Regions from separate parts of the Homo sapiens genome. Here all the other regions are linked to region 3. The links are contacts of gene promoters, found by promoter capture Hi-C in human tissues and cell types (Jung and others, 2019). All regions are on one chromosome and are shown on one strand. The core of a region is centred on a gene start or on the middle of the fragment in contact, and the rest is flanking DNA. Distances in the headings are between cores, read along the strand shown.

The links. Contacts are between HindIII fragments. The study calls those that stand out against the background at their distance.
Region 1: a fragment that was not itself captured here is called in contact with the fragment with the promoter of SETBP1 in region 3 in 2 of the 25 tissues and cell types used here (aorta and heart right ventricle).
Region 2: a contact is called between a fragment that was not itself captured here and the fragment with the promoter of SETBP1 in region 3, in 1 of the 25 tissues and cell types used here (dorsolateral prefrontal cortex).
Region 4: a fragment that was not itself captured here is called in contact with the fragment with the promoter of SETBP1 in region 3 in 1 of the 25 tissues and cell types used here (H1 embryonic stem cells).

The regions. Positions count from the first base shown.
Region 1 is chr18:44,852,374-44,855,560 of GRCh38, reverse strand. The region is part of intron 2 of SETBP1 (SET binding protein 1); the gene reads right to left. Among named protein-coding and RNA genes, the nearest start is that of MIR4319, 120 kb to the left of the region's middle. The HindIII fragment of the contact is 5,802 bases long and covers 1-3,187 here.
Region 2 is chr18:44,519,946-44,523,553 of GRCh38, reverse strand. The region is part of intron 1 of LINC01478 (long intergenic non-protein coding RNA 1478); the gene reads left to right. It also overlaps the pseudogene MLECP1. Among named protein-coding and RNA genes, the nearest start is that of LINC01478, 9.9 kb to the left of the region's middle. The HindIII fragment of the contact is 3,422 bases long and covers 1-3,006 here.
Region 3 is chr18:44,678,975-44,682,491 of GRCh38, reverse strand. It overlaps SETBP1 (SET binding protein 1), which reads right to left and starts at 1,604. Exons shown (of 6, transcript NM_015559.3): 1 at 1,471-1,604. SETBP1-DT (SETBP1 divergent transcript) reads left to right here and starts at 2,620. Exons shown (of 2, transcript NR_187430.2): 1 at 2,620-2,876. RefSeq lists silencers at 1,730-1,779, 1,920-2,169, 2,840-3,479. The HindIII fragment of the contact is 9,552 bases long and covers 340-3,517 here.
Region 4 is chr18:44,549,340-44,552,657 of GRCh38, reverse strand. The region is part of intron 3 of LINC01601 (long intergenic non-protein coding RNA 1601); the gene reads right to left. Among named protein-coding and RNA genes, the nearest start is that of LINC01601, 19 kb to the right of the region's middle. The HindIII fragment of the contact is 3,318 bases long and covers 243-3,318 here.

The sequences.
Region 1 (3,187 bases), core at 610-3,109, 170 kb before region 3:
CCCCAATGCACCACTGGTGTGTTCATCAGCCCGTCCACTTAAGACATCAACTAGTCTGGAATTCAGTCCAGGTAACTTGTATGGAACAGGGCATCCCAACAACTTCAGGAATCACCATGTCCTCAGTGCCAATCCAGGTGTGAGGGTAGTCAGACTTTTGCACGGAGTTCATGTGAAAGATGCCAATGAATTCATTACATAAATATTTATTTTTTTAGGATGTAGGGAAATAGCAAAATGAAAACAAAAACAAAAACAAAAAACAAACAAATAAAAACCCCAAAACGAACCAAAAAAAAACCCAAAGTCCTTATTCTCAATGAGACAAACAATGAAGTAAAATAATAACAATAAACAATAACGATCATAACACTATAACCTGTTAATTATAATAAAAGAAGAGAGAAATAAAGCAGAAAGAAAAAGCAGAGTGGGGGATATGCTGCTTTAAATAAGCTGATCAGGGAAGGCCTCTCTAAGGAGGGAATGTTAGAGTGAAACCCAAATGAATGAAAGAAGGGAGTGAGCCATCTGGTATTTGGGAGAAGAGCAATCCAAAAGAGGAAATAGAATGTGCAAAGTTACTGACATGAATAGTACTCAAAGTGTTGGTGGAACAGCAAAGAGATTGGCACCCTAGAGCAGAGAAAAAGAGCAAGGGCAGTGGTAGGAGGTGACAGCAGAGTGAGGCCACATCACGTAAGAGCCATTAGGTCAGAGCTAAGAGGTATAGGTCATGGTGCATGAATGACTCTGAGAGATATGGGGGGTAATATGGAGGAGAAAAACCAATGTGGGGCACAATTTGAGATACACTGAAAAAAAGTGCCCACTGGCTGTTTTCTTAACAGCCCCCAGTATTTGCTGACTGATTAGCTATGGCATGAGAGGTTAAGACAGGAGTGAAGGACGATGCCAAGGGTTTTTGCCTAAGAAGTTGAAGAATGATTTTTGTTGACGTTGGGAAGATTGGAGTGGGTAGGTGGTAGGGTAGGCATGGTCAATAGCCCATGAACATCTTGGTTTGGCTCAGTGCTGGGAGCCTCAATGCAGAACACTAACACACAGTGGGTTTGTGGGCTGATGCATAGCTTGTCTTGGCTGCAGCACTACATACATTGAGGATGTCTTAGGGAAGGAGAATCAAAAGGTGTTTGGGATTGACCCACCTTGTAGAACACGTTGAGAAATCTGCATTATTAGGAATTCAAGATGTACCTGAGTAAATCCCAGATAAACGCAGTGAGTCTGCTACACCTGGACCTATTCCAGTGGGTCTACATGTCTGCGAGTTTCTTTGGAACTGAAGATTCATTTCCCCCTCTCATCTGCTTGCTACATTCATTCTGAATTTCAACTTTCTCTTAGGGAGCCCCTGCAAGTGCCAGGCCTTGTGATGCATTCTGGGGATACGCCAATGAACAAATAATATATAAGCCCTGCTCTCAGGGAACCCAAGAGTCTATTAGGGGAGACAGCATTTATTTTGAATATGAAAACCAAATATAATTTAGAGCTGTGATAAGTTCAAGAAAAAGTAATGAGAAAAAAGGTATGGGTAGGACAAAAGAATTAATGAAGACCGGTCTGATGTAGAATTTGAGAGTGGTCAAGGAAGGCTTTCCTGAGGAAGTGACAATAAAGCCATCCCCCAAAGGATGAGTAGAAGTTGCTAACTGAAGAGCTGTGGGAGAGGCACTTCAGGTAGATGGAACATCATGGTGAAGGCTTCTGGCAGGAAAAAGTAATTTGCACGTTGGAAGAGCCCCTGCAGTTTATAATGTAGAAAGAGGACTAGACTGAGGTTAAGACTCCTGGATTCTAATCCAAATCCTGTCATGACCTAGCACTGTGACCTTATTCCAGTTACTTATCATTTCACATATTCAGCTCAATTTATTCACTTGTGCAGTTAGAATGCAGATGGGGCAGTGTGTTCTGCAAAGTAACACATGCTTAGTAGCCAATCATACTCAAGTTCAGATATGAGCTCTTCTTAGAAGCTGAATCTCAAGTTTCTGTTTATCATCCATAAAAGGTGGATAACATTAGCTACCTCATAGGGATGTTTGGATGGGGATGTTTCGATGTCTGTAATGAGACAAAGGAGTCAGTGCCTCATAAATATGAGTTAGTCTTCCCTCCATCCTGTGATATCTTTAAGGGGTATGGCGAGGCTCAACTTAGACCACTAAAATGAGATCATCAGGAGAAGATACTGTACCACATTAACAGATGAAATTGTTGGTGTTAAACTTTGTACCCTTCCTCTCCCTTACACCTGGCCCTCTAAATCTCTTCACATGGGAGAGCTGTGGGCAATGCGGAGGGGCTTTGGCTATTACCATGGGCAAGTTGTAAGTGGCCACCTCAGCATAAGGTTGGCAACTTGCCTTCCTGGGCTTAGGGCAAAGGTGGGCAGGAGGTGACTGGAAATGTTGGCTCTTCTATGAAGCTTTTATTAGAAACAGGGAATTCCCCAGTGCTCTTTCAAACTCTTTTGGCCAAACATTAAATGCCCCAAGGTCAAATTTGTTAGTGCATCCACCAGCCCAGAGGACTCTTGGCTTTGGGGTTGAATTCCACTTATCTCCCTTCCCTCCCTTAAGCCTTGCAATTTAGCCAAGGCAGCTGCTCATACCTCATCAGCCCTTGAGTGGTTCAGTCTGTACACAAAAATAGACACACATGGCAATCACTGCTTTCATGGGGCCACCATTAGAAATTAGATACACTCAGGACACTCTCCAGTGAGGGGAAGGAGAAGCTGGTAGATGCTTACATGGCAGAATGACAGAGCTTGGGCTGGTCCCCAAAGAACCAGAATGGGTATCAAAGGCACCCAGGAAAAGCCATTTTACTTGCTTGAAATTCAGTTTCCTTATTTCTGAAAATAAGGTCCTCCAAATCCTGGCTAGCTCACAGGATTTGGGGGAAAATAAAATGGGATGGAGGCCATGAATGTGCTTTATACCTATTATACCAATAAATGATATTAGTGAGAATATTATTATCCCTACCAGCCCTGATAGATCACATGGCCATATATGGGGCATAGAGGAGGGGAAGAGCCCCCGGACCCTCTGGGGATTCATTTAAGCAGAGCAGCTGTTGTTTGACCCATGGCTGCACACCCAGCTTCATGGGAATACGGACGGACCAAGCTGCATGTTTGCAGCAATGGTGC
Region 2 (3,608 bases), core at 46-2,545, 160 kb after region 3:
TCCCGTTCCTGTGTCCAAGTGTTCTCATTGTTCAATTCCCACCTATAAGTGAGAACATGTGATGTCTGGTTTTTTGTCCTTGCAATAGTTTGCTGAGAATGATGGTTTCCAGCTTCATCCATGTCCCCACAAAGGACATGAACTCATCCTTTTTTATGGCTGCATAGTATTCCACGGTGTATATGTGCCACATCTTCTTAATGTAGTCTATCATTGATGGACATTTGGGTTGGTTCCAAGCCTTTGCTATTGTGAATAGTGCCACAATAAACATACAGAAAACGCATTATTTAATCTTCTCATTGAACACTTAATCACATTCTGTCATTCATATAATAATATTCATATAACAACTTCCTTGAATTTCCTTTGTTTGATTTTTGTTGTTGTTTTGTTAATCATCATGAAAATCCCTAATCAACAATGCTTGGTTTCTTTCCCATACCATCCACCCCATTCAGGAAGATTCTTTGCTCTCACAACAAGCAGAGTCAAAAGAGGGAGGAAATGGAGACACCGAAGTCCATGAGGATAGAAAAAATGAGGCTATTCTTGTCCAAAGCATAGAGGTTGAGCATGGAGGGAGAGTCAACTAAAGTGGATTCTTATTGGTCTGCCCTTTGAGATCAGACCCTTCAGCACAATCTGTCCTCTTTCTTTTTTCTCCAATCCTGGAGAATTATCATTTATCATCCCTGCCATGATGTAGATTGTACAGAGTTTGGGACTACTATAGTGCCCCTTTCATAAACCTGAAGTAGAGTTTCTCAGTGACAGAGAACACCTACCCCTTTCTTTTTCTGATGCTCATAGGGATGATATTGTTATGGGCTGTGCTGTACCCGCGTACCATTAAAGATATTGTCTTTCACCATGCTATGGCAATTTAGTTACACATTAAACAGTTGACATTGTGCAAAGGAGACCTCAGAAACTTTCAAAAACAGTGAGAAGTCCTCTTGATGGGTACTTCATAGCAAGGACCCCTTGTGATAACTCTCCATCAGGCCTTCTCTGATCTGGAGCACAGGATTGAAGCCTGGGATTGCAGATCAAGCCATAGTCTGTGGCTTGGCTCACCTGACCTTCCAATGCATTCTTGAGGAAATGAGTCCCTGTACATGTCTAAATCTACTTTACTACCTGCTTGACACCCCAAGTGATGCTCTTTGGCAGCTTGGCCCCTAGCACAATACCAGGGTGCCACCACCCAGGAGCTATCATCACTGCCCTTTCCTGCCAGGTCACCCTGGACTCAGGAAAACAACATCACAGGTCTGTCCCAGCTACAGTGGAAATGAAGCTTTCATGTCTCCTTCCAAATGCTGCTTATATTTTTATTTACATATTTTATTTGTGCTATCTTTTTCTCTTCTTACTATATCCTGACTGTATTATGAATTGCCATATATACAGAGATTGTGTCCCATCATTTTCTTACATTTTATTGAACATTGAACACTGGTTTTAGCACACTTTAGATGTCTGGTAAATATTTTTTGTTGAGTTCATACATACAAATTATAACAGGAGACAGAATAAATCTAATCACAGATAAAGACTCTTGTTCAATCTCTTTTAATAGGGATGTACTTTTGAGATAACATATTTCATGAAATGTCTATATCTTTTCAACACCATCTAGTCACATAGAATAGACCAAACATGTTACAACCCAAAGGTGAGGTCATTCATGAAGCATTCTTAGAATTGTGATCTACTTTCTAAGAGAAGGCATATGCCCCATTTTGTTGAGACAAATGCTTCTGGTCTCCTGGCTCAGATTACAGAAATATTTTTTCTAAAGAGAGTCAGGACTTATTTGGATCTGTCCTTGTAGGAGGGAGGCCTGAAGAGACATAAACAACCCAAGTGACAAGATTTTTATTTCCTATGTATGACTAGTTATGGTGTACTTTATAATATGGGTAGCATATCCGCTTCAAATTGAGAAAGACAAAGTCCAAAAAGGTTAAATGACTTGCTTAAAGTCACACAGCAACACATGGCCAGGCTTTGCACATTCTCCAGGTTTGATCAATCCTGTGCATGGATGCCAGCTGTTAGACAAAAGGAACCTATGCTCCCCAGAGGGCTTGGGTGATGAACTTCCCTCTTGTCTGGGTCCTACTTGAGGTTGCACGCATTGTTCCATCTTGCCTTGGAAGGTGATTGTTAGTGAAGCCCCTTCCAAACTATTCTTGTAATAATTTCCATCCTGAATCCCAGAAAAATTGAGAACACCGGGTGGGGTTCTGTCCCTCCTGTAAATCTCCTGGCTTGTTGCTATTTATTTAATGATTAATCCTTCAGCACTGCCTTGTTAAATAGAAGGGTAATATTTTCCTTCTGACTGGGCTGGAGGGGCTCCCAGTTCCAGTCAGGTACCTTTGGGCCATGCAGCTGAAGATATATAATGTGCCTTTTGTTTTGGCCCCTGGAAACTGAGCTTGTGTGGTGGTGAAGGATGTTCCTAGTAGTGGATTTTCTTCTGTTTCTCAAGTTTATGGTTAAAAGGAGAACTTATTATAAAGGTTAAGCTTTTATAACTGAGAGAACCAAGAAAGAATTAGAGTATCTACAGCCCCATATGCATGTGTTGTTCCCTTAAATACCTGAGATCACTAAAAACATCAAATCTCCCTAATTAGTACTTTTGTAGCTCTGAAATTTGCAAAAAAAATGTTTAATGTGATAATTATGGGTGAATTGTCAATCTCTATAGTGTGTTTGCATTTGCTCAAAATAATTCAAATGTAACAATATTTTCTAATTTACAGTTAATTGACTGCTAATAGGAAGAGGGGGAAGAATAAAAAAAAAAAGATGCCACAAACAATTGGAGAAATGACTTTAAGCTGAGACCCTTAGTGACCTTAGAGACAAAAATCTGAAACTAGGTTGAAGTGAAATAAGAGATTTTCTAATGAGAAACATTAACTTTTTAGGGGATATTGCAGTTTCCCACCTTGCACAAGAATGGCAAACAGGTTGGCTTTGGAGTATTTATATGCATGCATTGGTTTGTGTGTGTGAGTTTGTGTGTCTGGATGCCATGGGTCTGTGTAGTTTTTGTGTGAGTATGTGATAGGCTTTTTTGAGTTTGTGTCACTATGGCCCTCCTAATCACTTTCTGTGGTCACTTTCACCTTGACAGGCTTGGGTGCTCTTAATTAAATCTTCATATATTTAAAATCATTTCCTTTTTATATCTTGATTATCGGACTCAGATGGTGATGTTGATGGAGGGTTTTCACAAAACAAAAATGCAAACAAAAGCAGAAATTTACCACCAAATAAGAAATCTGAAGATGGAGCTATGTTGTGCAAAACAATCCTATCTGCCATCATATAAGCCCAGGCTTATCACCTCAATCAGGGGATGTACACCTCCAGGCTGCAGATGGCTGATAAGGAATGTAGCTTGAGGGCAATAGCCTTGATGTAGCATCCTTTTTGATGAGTCTCAAGCTTCACCTTTTCAATGAAGACCTGACTAATGTACTATGTGAATCTTTTTTTCCTGAACTCCTATAATCTTTTTAAGCCATACCTGTACTTATTTTTTCATCTTTTATTTTTTAACATGATTTAACAAGTAAGCACAC
Region 3 (3,517 bases), core at 355-2,854:
AGAAAAAAAGGGAGGGAGTGACCTGGGATGGTAAACTAGCTACATCTTAAAGTGCTACAAACTTTCTCCTCCCTCACACGCCCCTGTCTGGTTGGCTCCGCCTTCCCATCCCAGCTGGGGTGTGCAAAGGAAACTCTCCCCGGAATGCCCAGGTCTGGTCCAGTGTTGAAGATGTGGCCTGCACACAACACCGCCCTTCCTCTCCAAATACCTCTTCTCTACCCCATCCCCTTTCTCCCACGACACACACATGCTTTGCACGTGAAGATGAGTTTGGATGGGGCACAGGAGATATACCTATTTACTAAAGGAGGGTAAGAGATGGTGCCAAATCGGCAGATAGTTTTGGTGACAGTACAGAGACTTCAAGAAATTAGTTTTTAGTATAAATCTACAGAAAAAGAAGAAAAACAGGATGAAGAGTGAAGGAATGAAAAGAAAAAGAAGGAAAAAGATGTAAGAGAAAAACAATCAACGCCAGTGGACTCCAACTAAACTTTAAGGGGAAAGGTGTGGATAGTTGGCAGGAGGTGGGGGGAGTGTAGGGGCTGGAAGGGAAAGGTATCTGCTGTAGAATTCCAGAATAAACTGCCCTTTTGGAGGAGAGTTTCTGCAGGGATAAAGAGACACACAAATTGCCCTTTTAGCGTTAGATGTCAACCGTGAGATTATCAGGACAGTTTATTTGAAACGGAAACGAATCGGAAATCCTTCCCACAACAGTCCTTTTAGACAGATACACACCCTGAGAATCCAACACAGACACACATAAAGAATAAATGCAGCATTAGGGGGCAATAAGAACTCCCCTTCCACACTCTCAATACCTCTAGCCTCATCTATTTCCAATTGCACAACTTTCAATCTCCAATGAAAATATTTCCAGTTGGATCCGATTTCAGACTTGTAGTAAGCGGTCTGGATGGGGGGGCGGGGGGAATAGGTGCTGTACTGTGCAGGGGAGGGGGGCTGGAAGACAGTATTTCGGCAGTTAACTTATTTTTTTAGAACCAGCATGCTCTACCGATCAGAAATTGCTATTACCCAACAATGCTTCCATCACAAACAGACACTGAAAACAGCATCCCCGTTATCACCATCTTGCCAAAGATCTGCCCGGTCCAGTTTACCTGACTTTGTCCCTGCGGAACTTCTCAGACAGTATTTCGGTCAAAGAGATAATGGTTTGGAAGACAAAAACAATAAATCGATACCGAAGGGTTCCCTTTCCGGAGTGATTTCCCACTGGAAACCACCGAACGGGGAAGCCTGCCGTTCATTCCCAAGCCCACGGCTCCTCTAGAAACGCACACAATGCGTGCTTTCAAAAAGGCATTCGTCTGCTTTTAAGGGAATTCCTATCTTTTCAGAGTCCCAAAACCAGAGAGCACAAGAAAGAGACTCAAATCCATTGATTAAGATTTTTAAGAAAAAGACTAACACACAGGCACAACACAAGCACACACCAACCTTCGCCGGCTGGACCACTTCTTGCCTGTTCTTCTTTCTATTAACGACACGTTAGATTCTGATACATTCCCCCCCCAAAAAAATCCAACTAGGTTACAATGTAGCTCTCTAGCTCCACTTAACCTGCAAGTTACAAAGAGAGAAAAAAAAAATCCTGCCTTCCCACCCCTTTCCTTACCCCCTCCCCCTCCCGAGTCCACTCCACCAACGCCAAACCCGCCAGCCCCGCCAGCCGGCTGCAGGACCGAGGGAGGGTGCAAAAGGCGGGGGGCGGAGGGGGGGTAGATCAGATTAGGCGAAACTCAATAAGCTCCCAGCCCTCCAGCCCAAAGCTTCCACCATCGCCGCCACCAACGAGCCACTCCAATTGAGCCAGCATCGCCGCCCACCCGCCGGCCCGCCGGAATCGCGCCCATCTCCTGCAACCTCGCCCGGACCGGCATCCCGCCCCCTCGGCCCGGTCTCCCCCTTCCCGCCGGGTGCAAAGTCAAAGACCCAGCAAGGCGACGTGAACTTTTGCATGCAGGGCACACACGTCGCCCCCGGTTCCGGGAGTGCGGGGGCCCGCGGCGCGGAGGGAGGCTGGGCGCCCGGGCTCCCGGGCCAAGGTCGCCGCGCGTGCTCACCCATGTCCCGGCGGCTCCGGCTCCGCTGGCCCCGGCGCTCGCTCAGATCCCGGCTCCCGTCGCTCGCCCGAGCCCCCAAAGGTGCTGCTGCGGCAACTCCATGGCGATGAGCATCTGTCAAACGGCGAGCCGCGAGCTGGCCGCCCTAGCTCGGGGGGCGCCGGGGCCCCCGGGCGCGCGGAGGCGGCGGCGAGCGGCGGGCGCCCCGGCCGGCCCCGCGCTTCCCGCCCGACTCTGCCGCCTCCGCCGCGCCACCGATTTATGGAGAGAGATATCAAGGGGGAAAATGGCGTCTCCGGAGCCCGAGGAGTCCTGGAGTAATCACATTCACACACACACGCCCGCACGCACACACACTCGCACACACTGGCACACAGGCGCGCGGCGAGCCCTGCTAATTTTAGCAGGAGCCAAAAAAAATTTTATATATATATATATATATATATATATATATATATCCCCGTCTCTCCGATCAATGCTTTTTCTTTTTTTGCTTTTTTTTTTTTTTTTTTTTTTTTTTTTGCTTTTCTTCAAAGGATGGGTTGGAGCGTTAAAAAATGTTGGTGGGTTTGGGCTCGCAGGAGGCGGCGCGCGGAGGGCGAGGGCGCTTTTGCTGAGCTGTGCAGTTCGGTCCGCTGAGCCCGGCGGCCCTGCCCGCCCGCTCGTCCGCCCGCGGTCGCTAGTGTTGCCGCCGCCGCCGCCGCCGCCGCCGCTGCTGCTCCATGGCCGCGCCCGCCCCGCGCCCCCGCCGCGTCCCGTCGCCGCCCGCCCGCGTCCCCGGTGAGCGCTGGAGTGGGGTCGGGCCCGTGTGCCTGCCTCCCGCGCCCTCTCCGAATCCCGGACTCCTAGTGAAAGGAAGGGGGAGGGCGCGGGCGCGGAAGGGAGGTGGATCGGAGCGGCAGCGCGGCCCAGCCGAACGGGTACCGACCGTCACCCCGCGATCTTCCTCGCAGGGGGCGCCGGCGCCCAAGCTGCTCGCCCGGAGGGCCCAGAGCCGCTTCCCAGACCAGAGCCGGGGGAGGCGCAGCCAGTAGCGAGCCCTGAGCGACCTCTCTCCCCACTCGCCCCCCTGCCCCAGTGAATTTCTGTCAGTTGAAGGGAGCGGGGCTCTTGCCCGGGGAAAAGGAAAACAGTTCGTGGCCTGGGATCTGGGACCCCTTGCCGCCCCCAGCGCCCCTCCCGCTCCCCGGCGCCCTTGCGGCCCAGTGGCTCCTGCGCGCCGGAGTCCGCCGCGAAGACTGAGCGGCCGCGGGGATCGCCGCGGGCTCCGCGCGTATTCCTGGGCTCAACACTGCCACTATCTGACACAACAGGAGCAGTGTCGGGGGGGTACTGCGCGCCCAGACGTGAGCTGTGATAGGCTCTCGAAACTGGGCGCATTTTTTTTTTAACCTGGTAATTATATTTCACTTTCAGGGTTT
Region 4 (3,318 bases), core at 652-3,151, 130 kb after region 3:
TAATGTCCATGCCAAGTAAAATAATTTCTTTTCCATACTCACCTCATTGCCTTCAGTTTAGGCCCTCGTCACTTCTCTCCTGGGTTACTGTGACAGCTTCCTTGTACTCCAGGTACCACAAGTCCAGTACCACAACTGGTACTCCTGCTGTAACACAAGCCTCTTTTCCCATTCAACCACATGGCACATTGGCACCAATTCCATGTCCTAGAGCCACCAGGAAGGTTTAGGCTTAGGAATATAAGCTCCATTTCTGGAGCCTTTGTCATCATTTAAAACAAGTGTTGGGAAATAATAGAACTATCACTGATTAAATAACTGTGAGAGCCACCACACCATAGCCACCACCTATTATCCCGTTCTAACTATTGCCACATCTCTTCTCAGGGTAAACTGAGAAACATCTACTTCTTTGGAAGCATTATGACTATGACTCTCCTATCTTGTAAATGTGGTTGTGTTTAAACTTTCCCCTTTGTTGTCTACTTCTTCACCAGTTTAACTTCTACCCATAGCCCAAAATGAGACCCAAGTGTCAACCCTATTTAGAAGCCTTGCAATTTCTCTGAGATATAATATATACATAATAAGAAGGAGTCACAAGCACTTAGATATTTGAAGCCTACATAAACAAGGATTCTGTAATGAGGAAGTCCAGTATAGTCATGGCATCAGAAGTTCATAAAACACAAACTTGAGAGCTACTGGTTTAAGCTTTTCATTTACAAGTGATACCATTGAGGCTGGGAGTGAGAAGTAATGTAGGGCATAGTGGTGGGGAGAGAAGGTGAAGTGTAAGGTTTATTTCCCAAGGTCAAGCAATTAGGCAATAGGAGAGGCAGGACTAGAAAGAATACAGATCTCTTGGCTCCTAAACCAATGTTCTTTATATTTGCCTAGGCTGGAATAAAGAATTTAATTGTGTGGCTGGGCACGGTGGCTCATGCCTGTAATCCCAGCACTTTGAGAGGCCGAGGCGGGTGTGGATCACAAGGTCAAGAGATCGAGACCATCCTGGCCAACATGGTGAAACCCCGTCACTACTAAAAATACTAAAATTAGCTGGGCATGGTGGCATGTGCCTGTAGCCCCAGCTCAGGAGGCTGAGGCAGGAGAGTTGCTTGAACCTGGGAGGCAGTGGTTGCAGTGAGCCAAAATCATGCTACTGCACTATGGCCTGGTGACAGAATGAGACTCTGTCTCAAAAAAAAAAAAAAAATGTAATTGTGTGAAGGTGATTAAAACTAATATTAGTGTTTTCAAGTAAAGAAATACATATTTTTTCTTTAAAAAACAGTTGGTCTCCAGAGCATTATTGGATTAACCAATTGAAATTAATCAACTATTCAATTTCATTAAACAACCAGAAATTCAGCCAAGCAATTGACACTTGCCACTGAGTCAATGAATTGTTTGGGTACACAAGCTAACAGCTCAGTGGTGTAGGTGTTGTATAGACAGACACAGTCTGGCTGTTTCTGAAGTGGTAATCCAGTAAACAAACCCAAGAGAACTATGTACACACAGGCTGGTTCCCCCACATTGCCTACCAACTGAAGCAGATTAAATTAATAACTTTGCTCTGTTTATGGACATGCTAGTTATAAGCAACGTAGGCGTCTCGACTGACAATCAGCCAGGCAGAGAAACCAATTAACTAGTGGATCTAAAACACAAGAAAGAGGAGCCATTTTCTAAATGACCTGGATATATCCTTGGTATAAATTACTAAATTAATTAATGAATAAATCTCAAGTCTTTGTTGGTTAGCAACTTTACTCATTCATCAAATTTTATGAAACATCTCCTCTTTCTGTATGAGACATTGAAAAACAATAGCGATTAAAATATATTTCTTACAACATTAAAGAGAGACAATGTAGTTGCAAGGAAATAATTTCAAGTTCATTTTGTCAAGCATTCCTTGGATCCAAAATCCTGGAAGGTGAAAGAGAAAGGAAGGGGAGGAGAACCATCTTTTGTGAAGCCTGATTACACCTGCCTGGTGCTTTCTCATAAAGAAGCTTTGGCCCTGGGTAAAAGAGAGTTGAAAGCAAGTGACTCAGCATGGATACCATATCCATCTTCAGATAATTATGTTCTCTTCCCCTGTCAGCAACTAAATTAGATGATAATTCCTTATACTTGCCCTAGTACTTTTCACAGTATTTTACATATACTATCTCATATAATCTTTATCTTCATCCTAGGGAGACAGGACAAGCACCACTATTTTCATTTTAAAGATGAGGAAACCAAGGCCTAGAAAATTTAACTGATTTCCCAAAGCCACTCTGCTTTCTTTCAAAGCCATGGTAATCCGTAACTTGAAACTCTTACCAAATGGAGGCAATTTCTTGATTGAACAATATTCATAGAATCACTGAACCTATGTAGGGTAGTGATGATGAAATATGCCTCAATTTTCTTGTTGATATATAATAGACAAAGCATCAATATTTTTGCTTCATGTTTCTCTCCTCCTTCTTCCTCTACCTACCTATATTTTACTATATTAAAGTGTACATCTGGTCTGTGGTAAGCCATGAAATCTTACTTGGCTTCTCAAATCCACACTGTTTAGTGTCTTCCCTGAATTTCTTTAGCAATGCGAAGAGAAAAAGATTTTTTTTAAAACAGTTAATGGGTCGATTCTTGGATGTGTTAATTAAGATACTATGTGAGGGCTTGAGGCAAAGACAGAAGAGCAATGCCTGTTTACTGCTCCACCAGATCTCATGGTCTGGTGGGGCAGCAAGAGTCAGGGCAGCAGCCCACCACTGCGTGTATCAGGGGTGTGCTCTGTTGGAGTTCCCAATGCTATGGGGGCTCTAAAGAGGAAAGATCTGTTCTGCATAGAGCATGAAGAATGTAAAGACACGCAACAATTGGTTAAATACATATTTGAGCCATTCTCTGATATTTCATTTGCCTTATCTTTTTAATCTCAACTAGAGTGCTTCAAGTTGGAAACAATTTTCAACTGGAGAAATGTGCCCAGTCTGTTGGTGAAGAGAAAGCACAGGAGAGGTCAGATTATTTAATATAGAATAAAGTAAGCATCAGCTACCTACCCTCTAAAAGATGAACCTACTTGAGAGAGGAGAGAACATCAAAGGCTGTAATATGCTGAGCTTTCTAAGAAAACTGCTTTGAAGGGAACAGGTTTTGCTTGGATGGGTAAGTCCCAACATATTTATAAAAATCATTCACATTGTCATTTTTCATATGACCTCAATTCTGTGCCACATACTCATACTAGTTGAGGGTAGAAGTGGGTGAGAAGGGAAGTGAGTGGGGCAGAACTACAAGAAATAA